7 separate regions of the Homo sapiens genome follow, and regions 1, 2, 3, 4, 5 and 7 are each linked to region 6. The links are contacts of gene promoters, found by promoter capture Hi-C in blood cells and fetal thymus (Javierre and others, 2016). All regions are on one chromosome and are shown on one strand. The core of a region is centred on a gene start or on the middle of the fragment in contact, and the rest is flanking DNA. Distances in the headings are between cores, read along the strand shown. Region 1 overlaps MYO1D (myosin ID). Region 2 overlaps TMEM98 (transmembrane protein 98). Region 3 holds the start of H2BN1 (H2B.N variant histone 1). Region 4 overlaps MYO1D (myosin ID). Region 5 has its middle 11 kb from the start of TMEM98. Region 6 holds the start of CDK5R1 (cyclin dependent kinase 5 regulatory subunit 1). Region 7 has its middle 29 kb from the start of TMEM98.

The links. Contacts are between HindIII fragments. The CHiCAGO score rates a contact against its expected background, and 5 or more counts as called.
Region 1: a contact is called between a fragment that was not itself captured here and the fragment with the promoter of CDK5R1 in region 6, in 4 of 17 cell types (naive CD4 T cells, naive B cells, naive CD8 T cells and 1 more). The highest score is 6.2, in naive CD4 T cells.
Region 2: a contact is called between a fragment that was not itself captured here and the fragment with the promoter of CDK5R1 in region 6, in 2 of 17 cell types (M1 macrophages and endothelial precursors). The highest score is 6.7, in M1 macrophages.
Region 3: a contact is called between a fragment that was not itself captured here and the fragment with the promoter of CDK5R1 in region 6, in 6 of 17 cell types (endothelial precursors, megakaryocytes, naive CD8 T cells and 3 more). The highest score is 8.4, in endothelial precursors.
Region 4: a fragment that was not itself captured here is called in contact with the fragment with the promoter of CDK5R1 in region 6 in 1 of 17 cell types (total CD4 T cells); the score reaches 5.0 in total CD4 T cells.
Region 5: a contact is called between a fragment that was not itself captured here and the fragment with the promoter of CDK5R1 in region 6, in 3 of 17 cell types (naive B cells, endothelial precursors and M1 macrophages). The highest score is 6.7, in naive B cells.
Region 7: a fragment that was not itself captured here is called in contact with the fragment with the promoter of CDK5R1 in region 6 in 1 of 17 cell types (megakaryocytes); the score reaches 5.1 in megakaryocytes.

What each region holds. Positions count from the first base shown.
Region 1 is chr17:32,857,795-32,861,142 of GRCh38, reverse strand. All of the region lies in intron 1 of MYO1D (myosin ID), which reads left to right. Among named protein-coding and RNA genes, the nearest start is that of MYO1D-DT, 17 kb to the left of the region's middle. The HindIII fragment of the contact is 2,612 bases long and covers 560-3,171 here.
Region 2 is chr17:32,936,642-32,939,787 of GRCh38, reverse strand. TMEM98 (transmembrane protein 98) reads right to left here. Exons shown (of 8, transcript NM_015544.3): 7 at 252-311. Among named protein-coding and RNA genes, the nearest start is that of TMEM98, 10 kb to the right of the region's middle. RefSeq lists enhancers at 2,503-2,797, 2,708-3,146. The HindIII fragment of the contact is 4,161 bases long and covers 1-3,146 here.
Region 3 is chr17:32,893,874-32,897,173 of GRCh38, reverse strand. H2BN1 (H2B.N variant histone 1) reads right to left here and starts at 1,741. Exons shown (of 2, transcript NM_001401340.1): 1 at 1,568-1,741. The coding sequence starts at 1,741. The region is part of intron 3 of MYO1D-DT (MYO1D divergent transcript); the gene reads right to left. RefSeq lists cis regulatory regions at 2,709-2,770, 2,262-3,300. The HindIII fragment of the contact is 923 bases long and covers 1,544-2,466 here.
Region 4 is chr17:32,793,978-32,797,234 of GRCh38, reverse strand. All of the region lies in intron 1 of MYO1D (myosin ID), which reads left to right. Among named protein-coding and RNA genes, the nearest start is that of MYO1D-DT, 81 kb to the left of the region's middle. The HindIII fragment of the contact is 807 bases long and covers 1,583-2,389 here.
Region 5 is chr17:32,915,852-32,918,855 of GRCh38, reverse strand. No RefSeq gene overlaps it. Among named protein-coding and RNA genes, the nearest start is that of TMEM98, 11 kb to the left of the region's middle. RefSeq lists an enhancer at 379-1,010. The HindIII fragment of the contact is 2,539 bases long and covers 40-2,578 here.
Region 6 is chr17:32,485,374-32,488,416 of GRCh38, reverse strand. CDK5R1 (cyclin dependent kinase 5 regulatory subunit 1) reads right to left here and starts at 1,424. Exons shown (of 2, transcript NM_003885.3): 1 at 1,255-1,424; 2 at 1-941. The coding sequence starts at 796. RefSeq lists enhancers at 338-897, 2,137-2,638 and silencers at 785-1,074, 1,165-1,424, 1,535-2,064. The HindIII fragment of the contact is 10,728 bases long and covers 1-3,043 here.
Region 7 is chr17:32,955,250-32,958,358 of GRCh38, reverse strand. No RefSeq gene overlaps it. Among named protein-coding and RNA genes, the nearest start is that of TMEM98, 29 kb to the right of the region's middle. The HindIII fragment of the contact is 1,179 bases long and covers 1,206-2,384 here.

The DNA of each region.
Region 1 (3,348 bases), core at 616-3,115, 370 kb before region 6:
GAGCTGAGGTTGCGCCACTGCAGTCCAGCCTGGGCAACAGAGCGAGACTCCGTTTCCAAAAAAAAAAAAAAAAAGAATAAACACCAATACAGCCCAGACGTGATCCCTATAGTATAACAGAGTTGTTTCTTGGAGTAGGTAGCCCTAGGGCAGTGTTTTGTTGATTTGAAATAAGTGAATCTTGATAATGACTAATGGGCTAACACTGATTTGAGGGGATTTACTTTTCTTCATTTTATGCTTCAAGCCAGAGAAATTCTGAGCCATGAATTCTCTGATGAAGTCTCTTGAGTCATAGAATTTTAATGCCGGAAGGGAATCTTGAGGTTCCTCACTGTTGTATAGATGCATGAAGTTAGAAACACAGAAAGTCAGGACTTTTTACTAGTCTAGTGGCACATTTACTACGGGGGCAAAAATCTGTCTCCTAGCTTTGTGTTTATTATTCGGTTTTTGTCCTATTCCTAGCTCTTTTGCTTTGCAATCAAGTAGCAACTCTTCAATTTCCTTTATTATTCTCACTTAAAAGACCTGAACTAGTTGAAACAATGGAAAAGCTTACAATGTAAATAAGAAGTAAACCTCTAGTTCTCTATTGAAGGGCAACAATTTAACAATACAAATACAAAATAACATTGTTGTAGGTGTGAGAAAGATGGAGGTCTTAGTAGTCTATGTTATGTGTCACCATTGACTTGGGCTATGTCAGAGGAAATACAGGGACTTGGAAGTTCCCTAGCTTATCACACCTCTCCTGGAGGGGTGTGTGGTTGCTAGCTTCACTCTATATCAGTCAGAATGCTGTTGGGGGCAGCTAAAAAGAAAACCAGACCAAACTGGCTTAAACAGAAAAGAAACATGTTATCTCACACAACAAGAAGGCTAATGATAAGAGAGGTTCTGGCCAGTCCCTAAGGACTCTGCCTCCACTTGTCTGTGATTCCCTTGGTTTTGCCCTTCTTGTGCTGGTTTCATCCTCAGCTGGTGGAAGGTCGTTGCAACAGTTCTGTGCATCTCACCCAGGCACAGTAATGTCCTGAGGAAGGAGAGTGAGCTCTCTGCTTGTGTTGTGCTCCTTGCTTAGGAAGCCCCCCAGAAGACTTCCTTACATGTCACATTAGTTAGCATTTGGTCACATGCCCATTATTAAACCTGCCACTGGTAAGAGGAATGTGGTTATCATGATGGAATAGTCAGGCGCTGATGATAGATTTCTCATTTCCTGCAGCATGTGGCTGTATGGAAGGGAGTGGATACCTGAACAAAGTCAGGCTTTTTTAGGAAAGAAGGAATTTTAGGGGCAGAATAGGATATTGGATAGGCAACCAAAAGTGCCTCCTCTACACAGTTTTACAAGCTATGTAGACAGAATAGGATTTATTCAGAAAAGAATGCTCAATATGTTGAGGGTACTTGAAACCATGTCATTTAAGGAATGACTGAAGGAACAAGACAGGACATGAACACCAACCTCAAATACTTGCGTATGAATTGATTATGTTTATTCTGGGAGACCCCAAAAGACAGAATTCATGCCAGTGGGTAAAAGTGAAGAGATGTAGATTTATCTTTCTGCTCCTTTTCTTCCTCTTCTTCTCTTCCTCCTGAAGAATTTGGTCCTAAAGCCATTGGGTTGGGGCACAGCAAGGTAGGCATCCATCCCAGGGGAAGGGGAGCCACAGGGGCCCAGATTAGAGTTTGGAGCCAAGTTGAGTAAAGAGGGGGCCAATGCATGAGGACCTGAGTATGGAAAAAGAGCATCCGTGCTGGCATGGTCTTGGTGACAGCAGTGGGAGATAAGTGATAAACAGGGAGATTGACAAACAAGTAAATATGTTGAGGATAATGGAGTCAGGTTTCTCATGGTCATAAAAGAGAGCTCCAAATATGGAAAGGGGAAAAGTACAGTCAACCCTTTGTAGTTAGATTGGAATCAGAAGTTTTCAATATACAGCTAGACAGAGGAGTAAATATAGATGTGAATGCGTATGCACCTATATCCATACATTATGTATTCCCCATCTCTGTCCATTGTGAGGACCTGGGAGCAGTGATACCTTAATATAATAGCAATGGTCACACCTAGTACCATCCTCCACTGAAAGAAATCAGGGCTTTGTGGAGAAATGGGTAATTCCAGGGTTGTCACAAAGTAAATATTAATACAAGGTGAGCCGGGGGCATCTTGTATTTTCAGAAAGCAAGGAAATCCTCAAAGAATGATGAAAAATGTAAAACAGATTCAGAAAGCAGCTTAAGTGAGTACCCACTAGCTAAATCTGGGTCAGTTTAATCATCAAAATGAAATCGGAAACCATGAGTCCATACTTACATAAACTAATAAATAACTTTTGAAGTTTGATGAGGAATGGGATATTTACTTAGTATCTCCCTACAAAATGTTCAATTAATTAATACCAAAGAAAAAAAGATTATTGTTACAGTGGAGAAGCCTGACAGATGCTACCTTAATGAAGTGATCAAAATGAACAATGTCAGAAATGGGACAAATCAGAATCATGTACCATGTGATCAGGTGCAATGAGAAAAACACAGCATTACTTCCTCTGTGACATTCCTGCTAAAGATGCATAACCTGAATCTAATCAGAGGAAACACCTAGCAAGCTCAGATTGAAGGCCAGTCTTTAAAATAACTAGCCTGTAACCTTCAAAAATGTTAAATTCCAAGAAAGACTGAGGAAGTATTCTAGAAGCAACGAGAATAACAAGACATAACAACTAAAGGTGAAGCATGATGCTGAACTGTATACTTTTGCTATAAGGGACATTTATTGGGGCATTTGGTAGAATTTGAATAGGGTTCAAGAATTAAATCTTAGCAATATATCATATGTTAATCTCCTGATATTGATAGTTGTATTTTGGAACTGCTACTTAGACATCAAATGGTTCCCAAAGAAGGTAATGAGTTTCTGGTCATGTGAACTTATTGAAACTGGAGTTAAAGGTTCACTCATTAGGTTCTTGTAAAGAGATGTTGTGCATCTGGAATATTGGTCTATGTGGCCTCTAAAGTCATACATTCTAGGATTCCAGTTGTCTAAATGCATATTTTAAAGGAACAGTTGAAAATATTAAATGATGTTATGCTCTCAGTTATTACAAATTAACAATTAACATTACCAATCAACAGGTATTACTTAAAGCTTTTTGCTAGAAACTGTGTATACTGAGGACTACATATAATTCGTTCCAAGAATAATGATATAATTGGAGATAAATGGAATGAAAAGATATGTAACCCCCGAAAGTAGCATATAATAAATGCCTGATGATTAGTAGCAATATTCTACAGTTCACATGTGGAGAAAATTTCTGAGGAGTC
Region 2 (3,146 bases), core at 105-2,604, 450 kb before region 6:
CGGAAGTCTAATCATAACAATTTAAAATCTAAGACTGCCTCTTTCTTCTCCTGGGTTTCAGGAGAGGACTGGCCTCTATCACCCAGTCAGGCGCCGCTCACTGAAGTAAATGGCACGCATGGCCCGGGCAGCCTAAGGAGGCTGCAAAGCCACCCTCCCTACACAAGCCAGTCAGCCAGCCTCACAGATCTGATAAAACGGTTGTGGACCTCTGCATGAAAAACCGAACATGCACCCACCCCTGGTCTCACCGTGCGTCCAGGAGTTTGGGGTCCAACGGAGGGTACATCGACTTCACAACATCATCCACCCTGACCGGAGGCAAAAGGTGTTCAGTACTTCACTTTCCTGATCTCCTTTTCTCCTTTTTTTTTTTTTCCTGAGACAGAGTCTCGCTCTGTCACCCAGGCTGGAGTGCAGTGGTGCTATCTCAGCTCACTGCAACATCCACCTCCCAGGCTCAAGTGATTCTCCTGCCTCAGCTTCCCAAGTAGCTGGGATTACAGGCACGCGCCACCATGCCCAGCTAATTTTTGTATTTTTAGTAGAGACGGGGTTTCACCATGTTGGCCAGGCTAGCCTTGAACTCCTGACCTCAGGTGATCCACCCACCTCAGCCTTCCATAGTGCTGGGATTACAGGCACGTGAGCCACACGCCTGGCCCCTTCCTTCCTTTCTATCTTTATTCCAGTTCTTCTTTTTTGGTATTCCAGACCTGGTCTTTAATGGTTCTTTCTCCAATTGCTTCTGCATTCTCAGACAGACACTTAGGCACAAAGACTTCAGGTTCAGTCTTTGCAGAGACTACTTTGTTTTCTAGTTTTGTTTCAGTTCCAATGGTTTTTTAAAATACAGTCATACATATGGAATGATGTTCAAGATTACTACTATATTAAAAAGGCAAATTGCCAAATAATATGTAAAGCTCAATCTGTCATTTGCATAAAAATAGATAAACAAAAGCTCTGAAATGTGGGGTTGGGAAGGATCTGGAGGAACACTCACCACTTAATAGTGGTTTTTTCCTACAATTGGGAGGGAGTAGACTTTCCAGGTCATGTATGTCTGCAGTATTTCACATTTTTATAAGCATTAATTACTCTTGTATTCAGGAAAAAAAAATACAAAGCTAAAGGTATGTAAGACACCGAAAAAGAAGGCCATGAGTTTCATTTGGCTTCACACTGCTCTACTGGATTTCTTCTACCCTGTGGTTAATTTTTTTAAATCAAGTTCAGAACTACAATTCATTCTGATTTGCGTGGCACAAGGTTTTGCTCCAAATCTTTGCTCATGAACACTCGATAGGAAGAAAAAATAAAGATGTATTGTTTGATTTCTAAAAGCACTTGAAAAAAAGATGGCCTCAAACACTCTTATTCACGGCTGTGGAGCCGGTGAGGACATGCAGAGACACAGTCACCCTCCGCGCCTATCTCAGCCAGCTCCTTTCTCTAGTGCCCTGGAGCTGAAGCCACCTCCTCGAGACTCACAGGCCATCAACACACTGTGTGGGATAAATGGAGCAGGAAAAACAATGGGGACAAAACATGGCCAGAAGGAGAAAGAAGTGTGAGGGCAAAAGGACAAAGCAGGACCCTGGCTGAATTATGGCACGGAGCATTCTAGAAGTAGTCCAAGGTACTCTTTAGGATGGGCCTGTGAGCACCAGAACAGGTCCACTCTCTGGACAATGCCACACCCTCATCTTAGGACCCGTGCTGATCCTACTCACCCAGGCTCACACAGAAACCTCAACCTCCTGAAAGTGCTGCCTTGTAACCTGTATCACAGGAATCTGCCTGGCCTCTAAGTGGCTCTTAGAAGGCACAAAAAGCATGACAAAGGGTCTAGTGAATACCATAGTGCAGAATCTTTAAAACTAATGGGGAAGGAGGCCGGGTGTGGTGGCTCACACCTATAATCCCAGCACTGTGGGAGGCTGAGGCAGGAGGATCACCTGAGGTCAGGAGTTTGAGATCAGCCTGGCCAACATGGTGAAACCCCATCTCTACTAAAAATACAAAAATTAGCCAGACATGGTAGCAGGCACCTGTAATCACAGCTACTCAGGGGGCTGAGGCAGGAGAATCGCTTGAACCCGGTAGGTGGGGGTTGTAGTGAGCCAAGATCGCACCACCGCACTCCAGCCTGGGTGACAGAGCAAGATTCCATCTCAAAAATAAATAAATAAATAAAATAATGGGGAAGGAATGCCCAGTGCCCACCCAGAGCCTGGGATGTGGGTTCTTATAAAGCCAGGGGCTGACCATGTGGCTACAGCCCACTGGAGGCAATTCCAGAGAAGGCAGGGAACTGTTCTCAGCTGAGTCCCTCCCTGGATTATCTCCCTCCCACTCTCTCAACTCACTGAACTGCCTGGACTGAGTTCAAGCTGACCAGGTCGTGTATTCCCTCAGAGGAACTCACGTGGCAACTCAGGAAACTGGTCGTTTTTATTTGGTTAATCTTGAGGCAGAGAAAGGGCTGGTTCCTCGTGATTTACCTGGGGCCATGGCAACAAGGAACGTGTGGGCCCCTGGAACTCACAGCAGTGCCATTGTTTCAGCAGGCATACAGAGGTGCCCTCCCGGGTGGGCGGAGGGGCCAGGTGGCTGACGTGGAAAACATCCTGGCCCCGACCCTCTGCTCAGGCACGTCGGCATACCAGCCACCAGGTGGCAGCACAAACTTAGTACAGCCCTTGGCTCTAAGAAAAGGGCTTTATTTTTCCTCACGATATCAAGCCCAAATGAGGGGGTGTAGCTGTTGACTGCAATCCTGCTGGTTGCCTCCCACACGGGATTTCGCAGTTAGCCTGGAATCTGGGAGGTTGAATGCCATATGGCTTCAGCTCCCACCCAGTGCTGGAGGCTGCTGGCCTGGGCCAGGGATGGAGCAGTGGGCACAGCCAGAGTGGGTCCCCCAAGCTAGTCTCCAACACAGATTCAGGCAGAGACAGGGGTGTGGGCATCTGTGTGACATGTTGGCCTGGGAGGAAGGCGTGTCAAGGGGAGCTGGTATGTGGCTGGGTAAGAGGGGCGGCCACGGGCTCTGCAGGGCAGGGTCTAGGACAGGGTCAGGACTAGGCACCTGCTGGCGCTTCCCCAAAGCCCTCTCAGATGGGTCATGCTGCAGGTGGGGA
Region 3 (3,300 bases), core at 756-3,255, 410 kb before region 6:
TTTTCATCTGAGTTCCCACAGCAAACAAGGCTTGCACTTAGACCACTTAGACACTCAATACATTTATCCAACCAATATCTTGTTTTATCCTTACAGTGCCCTGAGACAGTGACTCCAGCCACAGACCCAAGCCTTGGGAGGTACAAGGTGGCCTGCCAGGCCCACACAGTTAAGAACAAGCCAAAGAAAGACTAATTAGAGGAGAATGTCCAGGGAATGCACAAAGGACTACTTAATGCAAGTACTCCCATAGAGGGTCCTACCAGCCCTACAGGCTCTAGAGCAGGGGTTCTCCACTGGGGGTAATCTTGCCCTCCAGAGGACATTCAGCAATGCCTGAACATTTTTGGTTGTCACAACTGGGAGGGAGGGAGCAACTGGCATGTAGCAGATAGAGGCCGTAGAGGCTGCTTAACATCCTACAATGCACAGAACCCCACAACAAAGAGTTAACCAGCCCCAACATGTCAACAGGGCTATGGTTGAGAAGCTCTGTTCTATATATCCTCACTACACATCATGCACCTTCTCTCCTCTCCCATCTTTCCTTAATCTCATTTTCCCCTTTGTTTCCCAAGATAAGCAACAGATTCTAGATGATATTACCGGAATATGGGAGCTGTGGTATGACACACGTGAACACTCAAACTTACTTCCTTGTCATGAAGGCGTAAAATTCAGTCAAGATTTCAGAAAATCTCCTTACATCTTTTGAATCTTCCCAGCTTTTGAGGGGGAAGATTTTCCTGATTGTTTTCTACCAATTTCTTATGCCACGGGGTGAAGTTGGGTGGGCAGGAGGAAGGAACCAGGGTGCCTACCCCTCCTAAGTAATATTAGAAATACAGAGCATCATTTGACGAAAACTGATCTATGCCACTCTTCAAAGTTACAAAACAGACTAGGTGGCAAATATCCGCTTTACAAGAAAAGGAGAGGGCGTTTAAGAATCAGTTTAGGCCAGGCGCAGTGGCTCATGTCTATAATTCCAACACTTTGGGAGGCCAACATAGGAGGATTGCTTGAGCCCAGGAGTTCAAGACCAGCCTGGGAAACGTAGTGAGACCCTATCTAAAAAAAATAAAAACCCACTAAAACAGACAAGCAAATTAGCTAGGCATGGTGGCGTGGGCTTATAGTCTCATCTACTTGGGAGGTTGAGGTGGAAGAATCATTTGAGCCCAGGAGATGGAGGCTGCAGTGAGCTATGATTGCAACAATGCACTATAGTCTGGGTGACAGAGCAAGACCCCATCTCAAAAAAAAGGAAAAAGAATCAGTTTACAGATTTACAGATTGCCTGTCAACAGATACGAGAGCGAGAGAGACATTCATTAAGAGCTCAGGTGTTCAGAGCTGCTGCCAACAGAAAGAAAACGAAGCGAGAGAAGACAGCAGCCATTAGCAGATCCAATTTAGAAAAGCTGTTGGCACATAACTTTTCAGGAACACTATGTGTGAAGGACTCCTGTATCACAGTAAGTTGAAGTCAAGATGATACCCAGGGCCGCTAACATGATACCTCTCTTGGCCATTCTAAGCTTCTACAAAGAGTGCACCAACTCACTTGCTTTAGGATTTTCCCCATGTAACTAAAATAGGCTTCCTTCCTCCTCTTCTTTCTCCACCTCCTCTTCTTCCCAGTGGCTGAGTTGGCCCACTCATGCTTCTTTTTGACTGGGAAATAAAGCTCAGTCTTGTTCTTAGGGAATCTTAGGTCATTTAAGCAAATGAAATACATGTTGAAAGCTCAATCTTTAGGCCCCTAGCTCAGAGCACTGGCTGTAGGTCAGTGTGTGCTCCAAAAAGGTTTTATAGGGAGCGCTGAAGTATGCTTTCCTAATTAAATTAGTGATCACACCTGCAGAAGATGAAGGTGCTCAGAATCCTTAATAGATATTAGGTGTAGGCCGGCACAGTGGCTCACACTTGTAATCCCAGCACTTTGGGAGGCCGAGGTGGGAGGATCACTTCACCCCAGGAGTTTGAGACCAGCCTGGGCAACATGGTGAAACCCTGTCTCTACCAAAAAAAAAAAAAAATTGTCGGGCATGGTGGTACATGCCTGTGGTCCCAGCTACTTGGGAGGCTGAGGTGGGAGGATCACCTGAGCCCAGGAGATGGAGGCTGCAGTGAGCCGTGATCATGCCACTGCACTCCTGCACTCCATTCTGGGTGACAGAGTAAGACTCTGTTTCAAAAAAAAAAAAAAAAAAAAGATTAGGTGTAGACTCTAAACGAGAGAGGCTACTTTGATGCAATGGCCATTAATTTACCAGGCAACAGTCATTTCAGAAGTTATTCTTTTATTGTACCTAACTCAAGGTGTTTTTATTACATGATTCTTAGCCACTAAGATTTATATTCAAAAGACTGGGAGTGAAACCTGGAAGATAGATGTTTCTAAAGCAGGCCAGGTAAATCTAATGACCAACCAGATATGGAATTTATTGATCTATGAAAGCTTCCTGAAACAACTACACAAGATTTGGGTTGGAGTGGAGGAGGCATCTATTCACAGACATTGCACTTATGCCTTGTATTTGTATTTGCATCAGGAGAAAAACGCATCCTCTGAAAGGCAAGCACATACCTGGTTATGCAACAGCAATTAGGAACTTGGGTGACAGCATGAACAAAAATGCCAGGAAGTGACTGTATCTACAAGACTCAACTTTGAGAAATTGTAGATAGCCCATGAACTTCCTGCAATTAGTGTATCAGTTCAGCTACAAGGAATTGACCAGCCTGACACGAACGAACAGATAAGAGGACACCAGAGAACCAGGGTGTCAAAGGAGAGAAGAACCAGATCAGAACAGACACTCTTTCCCCTACTACTGGTTATAAGTTGCTTCAAAGCCTTGGTGCAAGGGACTGGCAGATAATAACAGTGCCGTCAACTTAGGAGCCCTAACTATGTCCCAGATGCCACACTAACATTCTTTATCCCATTTAATTATCAGAGCAACGCTATGAGGTAAGATATTAGCATTACTCCACTTAACAGAGAAGGACACTGAGGTTCAGAGGGCTTAAGTGACTTGCACAGGGTCATATACAGTGTCTGAGTGGCAAAGCCAGCCTTGGAGCCTTTGCTTTCTAACTCGCATTCTCTCTCCTTCCAAAACTGAACACCAGAGCCCCACAATGTTTGTAGTTACACATGTGCTCTACATAATTGCTACATGTATCAATTCATTGCTGGAGAATTTCAAATGTAACTTATTTATAGTGTAGGTTGAATTCTTCTGAATTATTTCTTTGATACTCTGCAAAGTCCTGAATTTAAAACCCTGA
Region 4 (3,257 bases), core at 737-3,236, 310 kb before region 6:
CACTTTGGGAGGCCGAGGCGGGTGGATCACGAGGTCAGGAGATCAAGACTGTCTTGACCAACATGGTGAAACCCCATCTCTACTAAAATACAAAAAATTAGCCGAGTGTGGTGGCAGATGCCTGTAATCCCAGCTACTTGGGAGGCTGAGGCAGGGGAATCGCTTGAACCTGGGAGGCAGAGGTTGAAGTGAGCTGAGATCGCACCACTGTACTCTAGCCTGGTGATAGAACGACACTCCATCTCAAAAAAAAAAACAACAAAAGTGATGCAGTGTACTAAGTTTTATGTCATTTTCTGAATTAGGCATAGTTATTTAAAAGTGACAGGATATACTGTTTAGGTTTCCTGTCGTCCAGAGACCCGTCCCATGGAGTGAAATACCTCAGTACCATGTAAGGTAGAGAGGCTTCCTACCAGTATAAATTTGAGAGTGGGAAGGGATGAGAATCTTAAGTTTATTCTATTTAGTTAAAGTCCTCAGCCATCTGTGGGATTTACTTGTTTTTTAAAAGGATGTTTGGCTGGGCATGGTGGCTCACACCTGTAATCCCAACACTTTGGAAGGCTGAGGCCAGCAGATTGCTTGAGCTTAGGAGTTCGAGAACAGCTTGGGCAACATGGCAAAAACCCCGTCTCTACAAGAAATACAAAAATTAGCTGGATGTGGTGGCCCGCGCCTGTAGTCCCAGCTACTCAGGAAGCTGAGGTGGGAGGATCACTTAAGCTTGTGAGGTGGAGGTTGTAGTGAGGCTGCGATCATGCCACTGCTCTGCAGTCCAGACAACACTGTGAGACAGTCTCAAAAAAAAAAGTATGTTTAATACTGTAATTCACATGGTTTTTAATATTATTTAAAATGCATAATTGTTATCAATTCATATAATTGTCAATGCCTACTAAAGAGTTTTCTACATCAGGTCCAGGTATCCTTCATTTTCCTGAGCAGTGTTGATTTATAAATAAGCTAACTCCCCAGTTAAGGTAAAATGCAGCTAACTACTTCCCTAGGTATGCCAAGTAGCCAAATGTTACCATAATGGGAAATCATTTCTAAATGGAATGGATGAAAAGGAATAAATATATAAATATTGAGCCCTATGTTGGATAAATTATGTTTATTGTTGGTTGAAAGAGAAAATCAGTGTCATATTATTAATAGGTAATTTTCATTCTCATGTTTTGGTTTAAATCTTCATGCCTGTCATTATTGGACACTCAGCACCGTTAAGGGTCTTGTATCGGTTCGAACCCCGAGAGCGCGCTAACAGACAACATGAGGTGGTGTGAAGCAACATGCTGTTTTAATGAGCACCTGGGTGCAGGCGGGCTGAGGCCTAAAATGGCCTCAGCACCAAGTGAGGACGGGGCAAAGGTTTTATAGTCTCCTGTAAACAGGAAGTGTCGTAGTCTGACGTAACTGCTATGTTGTACCCGGATGGCCTCTTTCTCAGTCTTTAGGAGTACTTGTCTTCAGGCGGACTCTCTTCCTCCTTCTGCTGTCTTGCTGGCGCAAGTTGCTGCCCCAAGTTGCACCTTGGAACTGGGCCTGAGAAGAGAGGAGTTATTCATCTCCTTAAGCTTTCAGGCCCCGGGGAGAATCTTACAAGCACTTCATAGCTAAATAATGCTATGGTGATTTATTCATGTGCTGACATTGTATAGCTTCTTTATTGTATTTTTTAAAAAACTGAATTGCATGAGACCTTAGTAGTTAACGTTTTATGGGAGGAAGCTATTGTGTTTGTTTCTATTATACCAGGAAGGTTGAATCACTGAGGAACTTGGTATGATGAATTCAGTTAGTAAAAAAAAAAAAAAATTTAAATAGAACCCAGATATCTCCTGTCTCTTTAAAATATTTTTCCACTTTTAAATGGGGCAATGAAGTATGTGTTCTCCTTGCCGTGTTTGCTGGCCGTGATGGTGTGGTTATCTGCTTGCTCTCTCCACTGCTGATGATCTGTGTTTGCCATCCTTGGTGTTGTTCACTTTGTGTTCAGGGGATCGGGTTTAATTCTATGAGAGAAAGAAGTGTGAGAAACATCTTCACTTGGATGTCTCTCAGGTGTCTCAAACAGATTGCATAGTCTGTCTGAATCACAGTTGCCTCCTGTCCCTATCCTCATTAATGGAGCATCACGGTCTGCTCAGTAGCTCATGTGAGATACTTACCCTGACACTTCCTTCTTTCTTGCCTCTCATACCCAGTAAGTTACCGTCTCCAATAGATTATATCTCTACTCTTAAAGCCTGTCTACTTCTCTGTCTCTCTACTGCTCCATCCCAACCAGAGAACCCGTCATTCCTTCCTGAGACCAGCGTAGTGCTTCCTAATTGGTCCATTAGCAGGCACTCAATTCCTTACACCCTGCAGCCAAAGGGAAGCTTTCAAAAAAGCAAATGTGATCAATACTTAAAGCTCCACCCTTGGATAAAGTCCACAAGCCCTAAGGCCTTGCGCGCTCTGGCCCTCCTCCCACACCTCTCTCCCTATGCTCTCTCTGCTGTGGTATAGTCACATGCCCTGCTCTGGATTCCTCAAACACTGCTGCTTCCCTCCACCAGTACAGTGCATTCTATTGGCTCTCCCTGGACCTCCATTTAGTGTCTGTCCTTATCATTGCCTGCATTAGGGTGGAGATGAGTCTGCTGTTTATTCTTCTGCTTGTGGCTCCCAGCACAATGCTTGGAACATGAGTGCTAATAACTAATGATTGATTGAATAAACAACTGGATACAAATACAATTAAATACATCAATAACATTTAAAATTAGGCATGCCATAATAAATAAAAGAATTGTGTTTTGAAAAAGCAAGCATCACCTAAAAACGTATATATCAAAAACAGTTGTTTTCCATTGCAGAGGAAAGGTAAGATAATTCATCTAGGCATCTCCTGACCACATCTTCTGGTTAACTACCATTTGTGCAGCTCAAATGAAGAAATATTGCACCAGAAGAAGAAAGCCAAGAAATGAAGTCACAACGTCAGTCATTTAATCCACCACCTGTGGTCCTAACTAGTTCTTATGTCCTGTGGTAAGCCTAAGCAATTTTACTGAAGGCATTTGGCCTTAGAGGGTCCCCATGAACTGCTAGAAGAATGCTTTATAAACATGAAGCCAAGCTGGATCACCGTTCGCTGTGCTAGCAGAAGTAACCCTCACTGTGATGTTAAACAGAAACATAGCACTGATGCCGCATGCTGAACAATGGGTCTCAAGTGGAAGAAAGATATTTCCTGCCATTCTTAT
Region 5 (3,004 bases), core at 60-2,559, 430 kb before region 6:
TTACCTTGGAATCCTAGCCATGAGATAGCAATACAAGCTTGCCAGTTTTACTTTGTTTGCCCCAATAGGTAATCCAATGAAGGCCGTGAACCAAAATTTCAGGTAAAGCAGTTTGATTTTTAAAGGCCAGACCGCCCCAGATTCCAAAGAACACTGGGGCCAAACAGCACCAAAGGAGAGCATCACATATTAACCAGACCCAACCCTGCTTAGGACAGCAGCACTAAAGCCTGGATACATGCAACTCCATCCTACTTTCCCATTCAACAGCAAACTCCAGATTCCAAACAATATTGGGGCCAAACAGTATCGCAACTGCAAGAGAAAATTCTAACGAGGGCTTAGTACTAGGCCTAAGAACCTCTGCCGAGGGCGTTCTCTTTGGAGAGGTTGTGGTCCAGAGGATCCCCCAGAGTGTCCCCCTTTGGGGTCCAATCTTAGAGTGTCAGATGTCTCTGACCTTAGATGGGCACCAGTGCCACTTTGCATGTTTTCCCTCCAGAGGTCATGGCCTACTATGAGCTTTCCTTTTATCCTTGGATGAAGGCCTGGACTTACAGCACTCTTATAATTTGTTAAGGCCACAATTTCCCATGCTCTTCATTCCACTAGAGATAGCCATGAACTTTAATGACAGGAACTGGAGGCTGAGTGGGTTTCTTTTGCCCTTAGCCAGTCGAGTAGGAGAAGGGAAGAATTTAGCATAAGAAAAGGTTTAAGTCGCCTGAAACACTTGTGAGTTCGCCCCAAGCTGTGCCACATGTAGCGATCAGGGACCACAACCAGAAAAGACAGAAGAGTCCTTCCTGCTTCTGGGCAGGGCAGTTATCCCCATTCACTCCTTTGCCTTCAGGCAACACTGGAGAGTGGTCCCAGCCAGTTGCCCTCAATTACCAAGGAGCTGCTAGGAAACAGCCACTGAAAGACTGAAAAAGAAAGAAAGGAAAAATACCCAGGTCCCTTAAGCAAACCAGGCGGTGGCAGTTAGGTGCCTCCACATGGAAAACCCTTTCAGTTCACCTGCCACAGCCAGAGACCTAGAGTTGCCTCCATGCTTAGGCACTGCTCACCAAGGGACCCGAGTTGCAAAGGAAAAAAAAGAGAGAGAGAGAGAGAGAGAGAGAGAGGGAGAGAGACAGAGAGATTACCCTGTATGGAGCAGAAAGGAGAAAAATAAACCCCAAACTTTGGGCTTACCTTTTGGCTGGCTCACCAAAATATGTTACCGGTGGAGGGTCTCCAGGTTCTTGGCATTTTGAACAAAGAATTAGACAAAATGCACTAAGCAAGGAAAGAATGAAGCAACAAAAGCAGAGATTTATTGAAAATGAAAGCACACACCACAGGGTGGGAGCGGGCCCAAGCATAGGGGCTCCAGAGCCCCCATTACAGAATTTTCTGGGGTCCAAACACCCTCTAGAGGTTTCCTATTGGGCACTTGGTATTCACCCCATGCAAATGAAGTGGTGGCCTGCAATCAGTCTAATTGGTTGCTTTCCACAATCAGAGGCTGAAGTGAAGTTACAAAGTTACCCTCCTATGCAAATGTCTGATTGGTTTTGGAAAGCAATCTATCAGAGGTACTTTCAATTTTCTATCTGCCAAGCAGAAAGGCAGGGTGGTTTGCAAAGGGAGTAGCCTCTGGTCCTTTTGTTGCTTAGGTGTTGAAAGTTGGGGTTTTCCTTTTGATTTAGTTCTAGGAATTCAGGGTGAATCAGCCTTGGGTTCCCTGCCTCCAGACCCTATTCTCCTGCCTCAGGCTCACTGCAACCTCTGCCTCCTGAGTTCATGCCTCGGCCACTCGAGTAGCTAGGATTATAAGCATGCACCACCATGCCTGGCTAATTTTTTGTATTTTTAGTAGAAATGGGTTTTCACCATGTTGGCCAGGCTGGTCTCGAATACCTGGCCCCGAGTGATCTTCCTGCCTTGGCCTCCCAAAGTGCTGGGATTACAGGTGTGAGCCACCACGCCTGGCCCGGTTCATGGTTTTTAAAAATCAGATTAGTTGCCAACATTTTAAAAAATCAGGACTCTCACTTATAATTCTAGATTTCCAGCTTCCCTGAAAAATTAATAAGATCTCTCAAAAACACAGCCTACATTCCACCAGTAGCAACAGTCAGCAGGAGAGGGCAGGTGTTGTCCGAGGCTTGCTTTCCAGACCCAGCACTACCCCATTGCCCCTACAACATATGTGCACACACTCACAGCTCACCCTTTTGGTAAGAGCCTGGACCTGTAGGTAGCTGGGTTTTCCCACCATTGGCTCTCAGGGAAAAGAAGGCTGAGGGATGATTTTATAATCCTCTGAAGTGCTTTCATGAAGAAGCTACAAGCATTACAATCTGTGTAAGGAAAATAGGCTCAAAGCAAAGCAGCCAGCGTTGGAATGGGTGACTGGGGACATTAAATGTGTCCATTTCTTGGAGAGTCTCTGAGACGAACTATTTCTATTTGTGTTGGGTGGTTAAACATTTGGTGGCCTTGAGGTAAGAAGCTAAAACCACATGATCTCTTGTGGCCTCTTCCAGGTCTGGGGTTCTGTGACTCTGTACAAGAGATGTAAAAGAAAGCTTTAATCTTGAGGAGGTTGAAGCACACATAGAAAAGACATACACTTACCAAAAAACAAGCAAACATATAAACAAGTGAATAAACAGCTCAGCGACTGCCTGGAGCTGACAGTATGCATGCCCCAATTAACCACCCACTAACCTGCTGCTGGGAGGAAAGAGTTGTACCAAGGTTGTGCCCAGTACCTTTTCTAGCCAGCTGTCTCCCATTGTTCTAACATCCCAAGGCCCCTTGAAATCTCTCTCAGGATTGATCTGAGAAGACCTCAGTGTTGCACAAGACTGAATTGCAAGCAACAGAAAATGATTGTCCCACGAGGAAAGGGGACTTGTTGAAAGGACAAGAGGGTGCCCACAGAATCAGCAGGAGACTGAAGACCAAGATTAAGAACTGGGCAGGCTCTAGGGGCTAAGTGCCCCTCTCCATT
Region 6 (3,043 bases), core at 175-2,674:
TGATGACAGAGAGGCAACGGTCCCAAAAGGCCTCCTTGCAGCTCTCCACCAGGAAGGGCTTGAGCGGGTAGGAGATCTCGTTGCCCATGTAGGAGTAGGAGAGGTACAGGCATGTCAGCAGGACGGCCTGGAGCTCGTGATCCGAGCCCACCTCGGAGGAGATAACATCCCTGCAGAGCATGTAGAGGAAGACCACGTTGGCCGGCGTGATGAAGCCCTGGTCCTGCCAGCCCTGCAGAAGCAGCGAGCGGTCCACGCTGCGCAGCCAGAGCACGGGGTCCGTGGGGGACAGGTGCTTCAGGCGGTAGCACCGGCGGCAGAGAAACTCACCCAGGCAGCGAAGCAGCTCACTGGTGGACGCCTGGACGATGACCCGTTTGGGCGTCCCTGCGGAGGTGACGGCAGGGTGAGGGGCTTTCTTGACTGAGGAGGAGCCCCCGGTCTGGGAACCCGAGAGCTGGCTGGCCGGGGGTGCAGGCGGCTGGGCCGGTGGGGGCTGGGCGAATGTGGACAGGTTGGCGCACGACAGCGACTTCTTCAGGTTCTCATTGTTGAGGTGCGTGATGTTGTTCTGGTAGCTGCTGTTGGGCTGCACCTTCTTGGAGTTCTTCTTCTTGGCCGACACGGCCACGATTCTCTTCCAAGGCAGCACGGAGATGATGGAGTGGCGCTTCAGGTTCTTGTCCTTGGCGTTCTTGCTGTTCTGTACGGCCGTATAGTGGCCCACGGTGGCCGCGCCATCCTCAAACAGCGTGGCCTTCCGGTAGCTGGGAGACAGGGACAGCACCGTGCCCATGGTGCTGCTGCGCGCCGGGCGGGGGCTCGCGCCCCTGCGCGCCCAGCCTGCCGGCCGGAGGGATAAAACCGCTCACCGAGCCTGCGGCGGCCCCGGAGAGGAGGCGGGGGCGCTCCCGGGAAGCGTGCTGCCCCCTTGGATCTGCCTGGAAAACAAGATGGTTCTTAGCGCCAGGCTGGGCTCCGCGCCGCGCCCCTGCGCCCCTGCGCCCCTCCGCCCCGCGCCTCGGCGCACCCCGCCGCCCCAGTCCCGGGCCCTACCCGCGCCCCCGCGACGCAGCCTCGCCGCCTCCACTGCAGCACCCCCGCCCGCCGCCGCCGCTGCGGTCCCCAGGCGCAGCCGGGAGGGGCCCGGTCGCCGACGGAGGCGGCCGAGGACCCCCGCCTGGACACCCCGCACGGGCGCGACCCCGGTCTCCGCTCCCCAGGGCCAAGGACGGCCGCCCAGCGCAGGCTTACCCGGCAGGCGGCAGCTCCTGCGCTCCGCGCCCTCCGCAATGCGCGCCGCGGCCCCGCCGCCGCGGTCCCGGCGCTCGGCGGCGCTCGGGGGCGCTCGGCGGGGATCGGCTGGGCTCGCGCTCGGCGGCGGCGACGGCGGCGGCGGCGGCGGCGGCAGCTAGGGAGCTTCTGTCCAAGGTTCTGCAGGCACCGCAGCCCCGCCCCCCGCTCGGCCGCCCGCACCTTCGCCGCCGCCGCCGCGCTCCCGCTCCCGCTCCCGCTTCCGGCGCGCGCCTCAGCGCCCTCCCTCGCGGGGCGCGCGCGCCGTCCACGCTCCGGCCTGGTCTCGCCGGGGAGTCGCGGCCGTTGGTGTCCTCAGCTCGAGCCGCGCACGGTGCGGGTAGGACGCGGCAACGAGCGGGAGGCACCTCTACGCGCCGGGCCCCATCTAGGAGCCGGACTCCGCGGCTGCGGCGGGACACGCGGCGTCGGCCCGCCCCGCCCCTCGGGGCCGCCCCTCCCGCACAGCTCGCCGCCCGCTCCGCGCCGCCGCCCAACAGCAGCCCGGCCGCCGGAGAGTCCTCGGCGCCCGCGCAACCCAACTCTGCCGACGCGGGGCGGGCGCCGAGCAGGGCGGAGCCGAGGGCCGACCCCGCCCGCGTCCCGCCCAGACACGTGCTGCCTTTGTTCCCGCCGCGGCGCCCGCAGCTGCCGGCCGCGGGGGCACTCTCGGCCGAGTCCCTGCCCTGGCAGCGCGCGGCCCGCCCTCTCTGAGGCTGCCGCCCTGGCCTGGTGAGGAGCCCTCCGCCGAGGCCAGGGTCCGGAGCTCCCTCCTTCCACCTGACATCCCCGTCCCTGTGGAAAGCAGCCAGGGAGCGCGGGGAAGAAGGCCCTGGGCGGGGAGAGGCGACGCCTTTACTGAGGCCTCCCGAGTGCCACGCGCACCTCGAGTGGACAGTCCAATCGGTTCTGGCCACCCCTCCGGGGCCTCCGTTCCCTCATCATGGGTAGATGACCGCGGCCGAAGTGGGCCTCAGAGATCCAAGCCAGAGAAGCGTGGCCCGTAGCCAAGCCTGAGCCCGTCACAAATATGACCTCTAAGTTCCCACTCGCCCTCTTATTTGTCATATTAAAGCTGAAGCAACTGCCCCTCCGGCCAGCTTTCTGACCCTCTTAAACGTTTTCAATTCTAAGTATGTATAATTTGAGAACTTGATGCTAGCGAAATTGAGTAAAATTCTGTTTCTGAAAGCTGTTCCTGTCAGATGTGAATCCAGATCCTTCACAAAGGCTGTTGTTCATTTACTATTTTACCTTGTTTCTGGAGATCGAGTCAAAACTGACCACAAACCTGGGAAACAGGAAACTTAAGCCCTGTCTTAATCCAGATTATCTCTGGACCTAGAGATGAGGGAGTGGCTCTCCAGAGGAGAGGATGCCACCCAGTTACCTGACCACTCCAGCCGACTAGGCTTTCACCAGCCCTGTCAACTGTCCTAGGGGGAACAGAAAGGGAATCTGGCATCATTCAAAATGGTGCAATCAAGGCAGAAAGTGCTGGGTTTTGTTTATGTGCCACTCAGATTTCTGTCAATAGGAATTCCAGGCTTTAGGAACCTTGGGGGGCAAGGCATACAGTGGAAAATGCATTGCTCTGTACCCAGAGGGCTACTTTGTCCACAGCCTTTCAGAACATCCACAACAGCTGTTATGGGAACTCAGAAGAGGAAGGCAGGCCCCCAGCTCAGTGCGCCCCTCCCTGTGAATGTTCCTCAGTGTACAAGCCTACCTGCTCTTCAAATGGAGCTGT
Region 7 (3,109 bases), core at 546-3,045, 470 kb before region 6:
CCTTGGAGACATGATGCTAAGTGAAATAAGCCAGTCACAAAAGGATGAATATGGCATGATTCCACCGACATAAAGGACCTACAGTAGTCAAGTACACAGAGACAGAAAGTAGAATGGTGTCTGTCAGGGCTAGGGGAAGCGGGAAAGGGGAGTTATTAATGACCACGGAGTTTCAGTTTGGGATGATGAAAACATTCTGGAGATGGATGGTGGTGATGGTCACCCAATGACGTGAATGTACTTAATGCCACTGAACTATATACTGAAAAATGGTGAATATGGTAAATCTTCTGTTATGCATATTTTACCATAATTTTTAATTTATTTTTATTTATTTATTTTTTTGTGTGTGTGAGACCTCTGTCGCCCAGGCTGGAGTGCAGTGGTGCGATCTTGGCTCACTGCAACCTCTGCCTCCTGGGTTCAAGTGATTTTCCTGCCTCAGCCTCCCGAGTAGCTGGGATAACAGGCATGTGCCACCACACCCAGCTAATTTTTATATTTTTAGTAGAGATGGGGTTTCGCCATGTTGGCCAAGCTGATCTCAAACTCTTGACCTCAGGTGATCTGCCCACCTTGGTCTCCCAAAGTGCTGGGATTGCAGGCATGAGCCACCATGCCAGGCCCCATTTTACCACAATTTTTAAAGTTAAAATTCAAATTCAGAAAAAGGAAAAATGTAAAAACCATTCTTAATTCATAGCTGCATACAAAAAACAAGTGGTAGCCAGGTATGACCTGTAAGCTATAGTTTGCTGACACTTGCCTTAAACAAACCCTCTCACTGTTCCCCAGGAGGAGGTAAGTGGAGGAATTCATCACAGCATAGTGTGGGTTATAAAAAAGAAAAAAAAAGGAAACAGCATAAATATTCATCAACAGGAAAATGGAGAAATACATTGTGGCATATTTATATAATGGAATATTCAATGATAAGTGGAATCTGCTACAATTTATATATAAAATTTAAAACCCTACTGAGTAATGCTATATTGTATTAATGAATACATAAATATGTAATAAAAGTGTAAAAACATACATAGGAATGATAAACACTGGATTCATGGTAATAGTTACCTCTGAGGAGGGAGAGGAACAGGGGTAGGAGTGGAATATGCGGAGATCTTCAATTATATCAGTAATATTTTATTTCTTTAAATGAGATCTGATGCAAATATGACATAATGTTAAGATTTGATAAAGCTTAATCGTGGGTAAATAGGTATTCATTATGCTCTTTTCTATTCTTGTCTATCTTTGAAATATTTCATGACAGAAAAATTAATTTAAAAAAAAGCAAAGCAAAGGGAGGAACAAGTTTTTTGAGGAAAGAAAAGAAATCATCAATTTCAAAACATGCCAGTAACAAAGTGAATAACAGGCAAGGTAATCGGGCCATCTCACAGATCCTGGCTTCCTCAGGCTTCTTCAGCCCACCAGCTGAGAGCTTAGGGGACGGACCGTGTGCAGAGACCCACATTTGGAACCAAAGGATAGCTCTGTCCACAGGTTTGTCCCTCTGTGGCTGAGAGAGAAGACCGACAGTGCCAGACCACCCATACCTGGGCACCTTCCTCCAGCCACAGCCCTGGTTTCCAGAGATAAGCCCACCCCCACTCACAAGGCATGACAAGTCATTTTAGGGCTTCAAGATGTTTTGTTGTGAAAACCCCAGCTTCTCTCCTAAATACCTGCAGAGATGGAAAAAGACAGGCCAGGCTTCTCTGGGGGACCTCTCCTCAACTCAATAAACATTTATTGACCTTGTTTCTAGTCCGTATCTAATGCTGTCTGTTAGGATTAGATTAGACTGCAAGTAACAGGAAACCCAACCAACAGTGGCTTAAACATGACAGAAGTTTACTTCTGTCTCATATGAAATAAATCTAGAGGTAAATAACTCATGGTAGTGTGAAGGCACTGTCATCCCTAGGCTATGACATACTCCTGTTCAAGATGACAAGAGCTTCAGTTACCAGATCTGCCTTCTAAGCAAAAAGATGGAAGAAAGGGAAAAGAACCAGCATTCTCCCTTTTGAAGGAGACTTCCAGAAAGTATCCTTTGACTTTTTCACTGACATCTCATTGGCCAGACATAGTCAAATGGCCACACTTAGCTCCAAGGAAAGCTAGGAAATGTAGCCTTTTTCCAAGACACCATGAACCCAGCTAAAAACCAGGGATGCTATTGCTAAGAAGGGAGACAAGATATTAGAAAAGGCAACTCACAATCTTTGTCACAGTTACTGAGTTACTATGTGACTGGCCTTGGGCAAGTGTCAATAATTCCTCACGCTTCAGACAATGCATTGGATTAGGTCATTGCTAAGATCCTTTCCGGATCTGACATCTCATTCTATCCTATAATATTCTATGCTAAAGCTTTATGCTTAATATAATTGATTGATTCAAAGTCGGAAGAGAACCAATACGTATTACTTATTTTCAAATGTTCAATAATGTCATTATTTATCTTTTTTAAACCTCACAAACAATTATATGATGTTTGATGTATTATTCCCTTTTTTTTTTTAGAGACAGGGTCTCACTCTGTCACCCAGGTTGGAGTGCATTGGCACAATCAGAGCTCACTGAAGCCTAGAACTTCCAGGCTCAAGCCATCCTCCCTGCCTCAGCTCCCTGAGTATCTAGGACTACAGGTACACGCCACCATGCCCAACTAATTTATCTATTTATTTATTTTTTAGAGATGGGTTCTTGCTATGTTGCCCAGGCCGGTCTCTAACTCCTGGCCTCAAGTTCCTCCTGCCTCAGCCTCCCAAAGCGCTGGGATTACAGGCATGAGCCACCACACCCGACCATATTATTCCCTTTCAGATATGAGAAAATTGAGGTTCAAGATGGCTAAGCCACCTCCCAAGTTCATGCAGCTTTAAATGGTGTGACCAAGATTTGAACCCAATCCAGGCTCTTTCACCACACCATGCTGCCAACTTCAATATCTTGAAATAGACTGGGATACAATCCCAGGTCTGCCATTTACTAACAGTGTCACCTTGGATAAATTACTTAGCCTTTTTGTGCCTTGTTTTTCTCATCTGCAAAATGGAAATAATAGTACCTATGCTGTAGGGCTGTTGAGAGGATT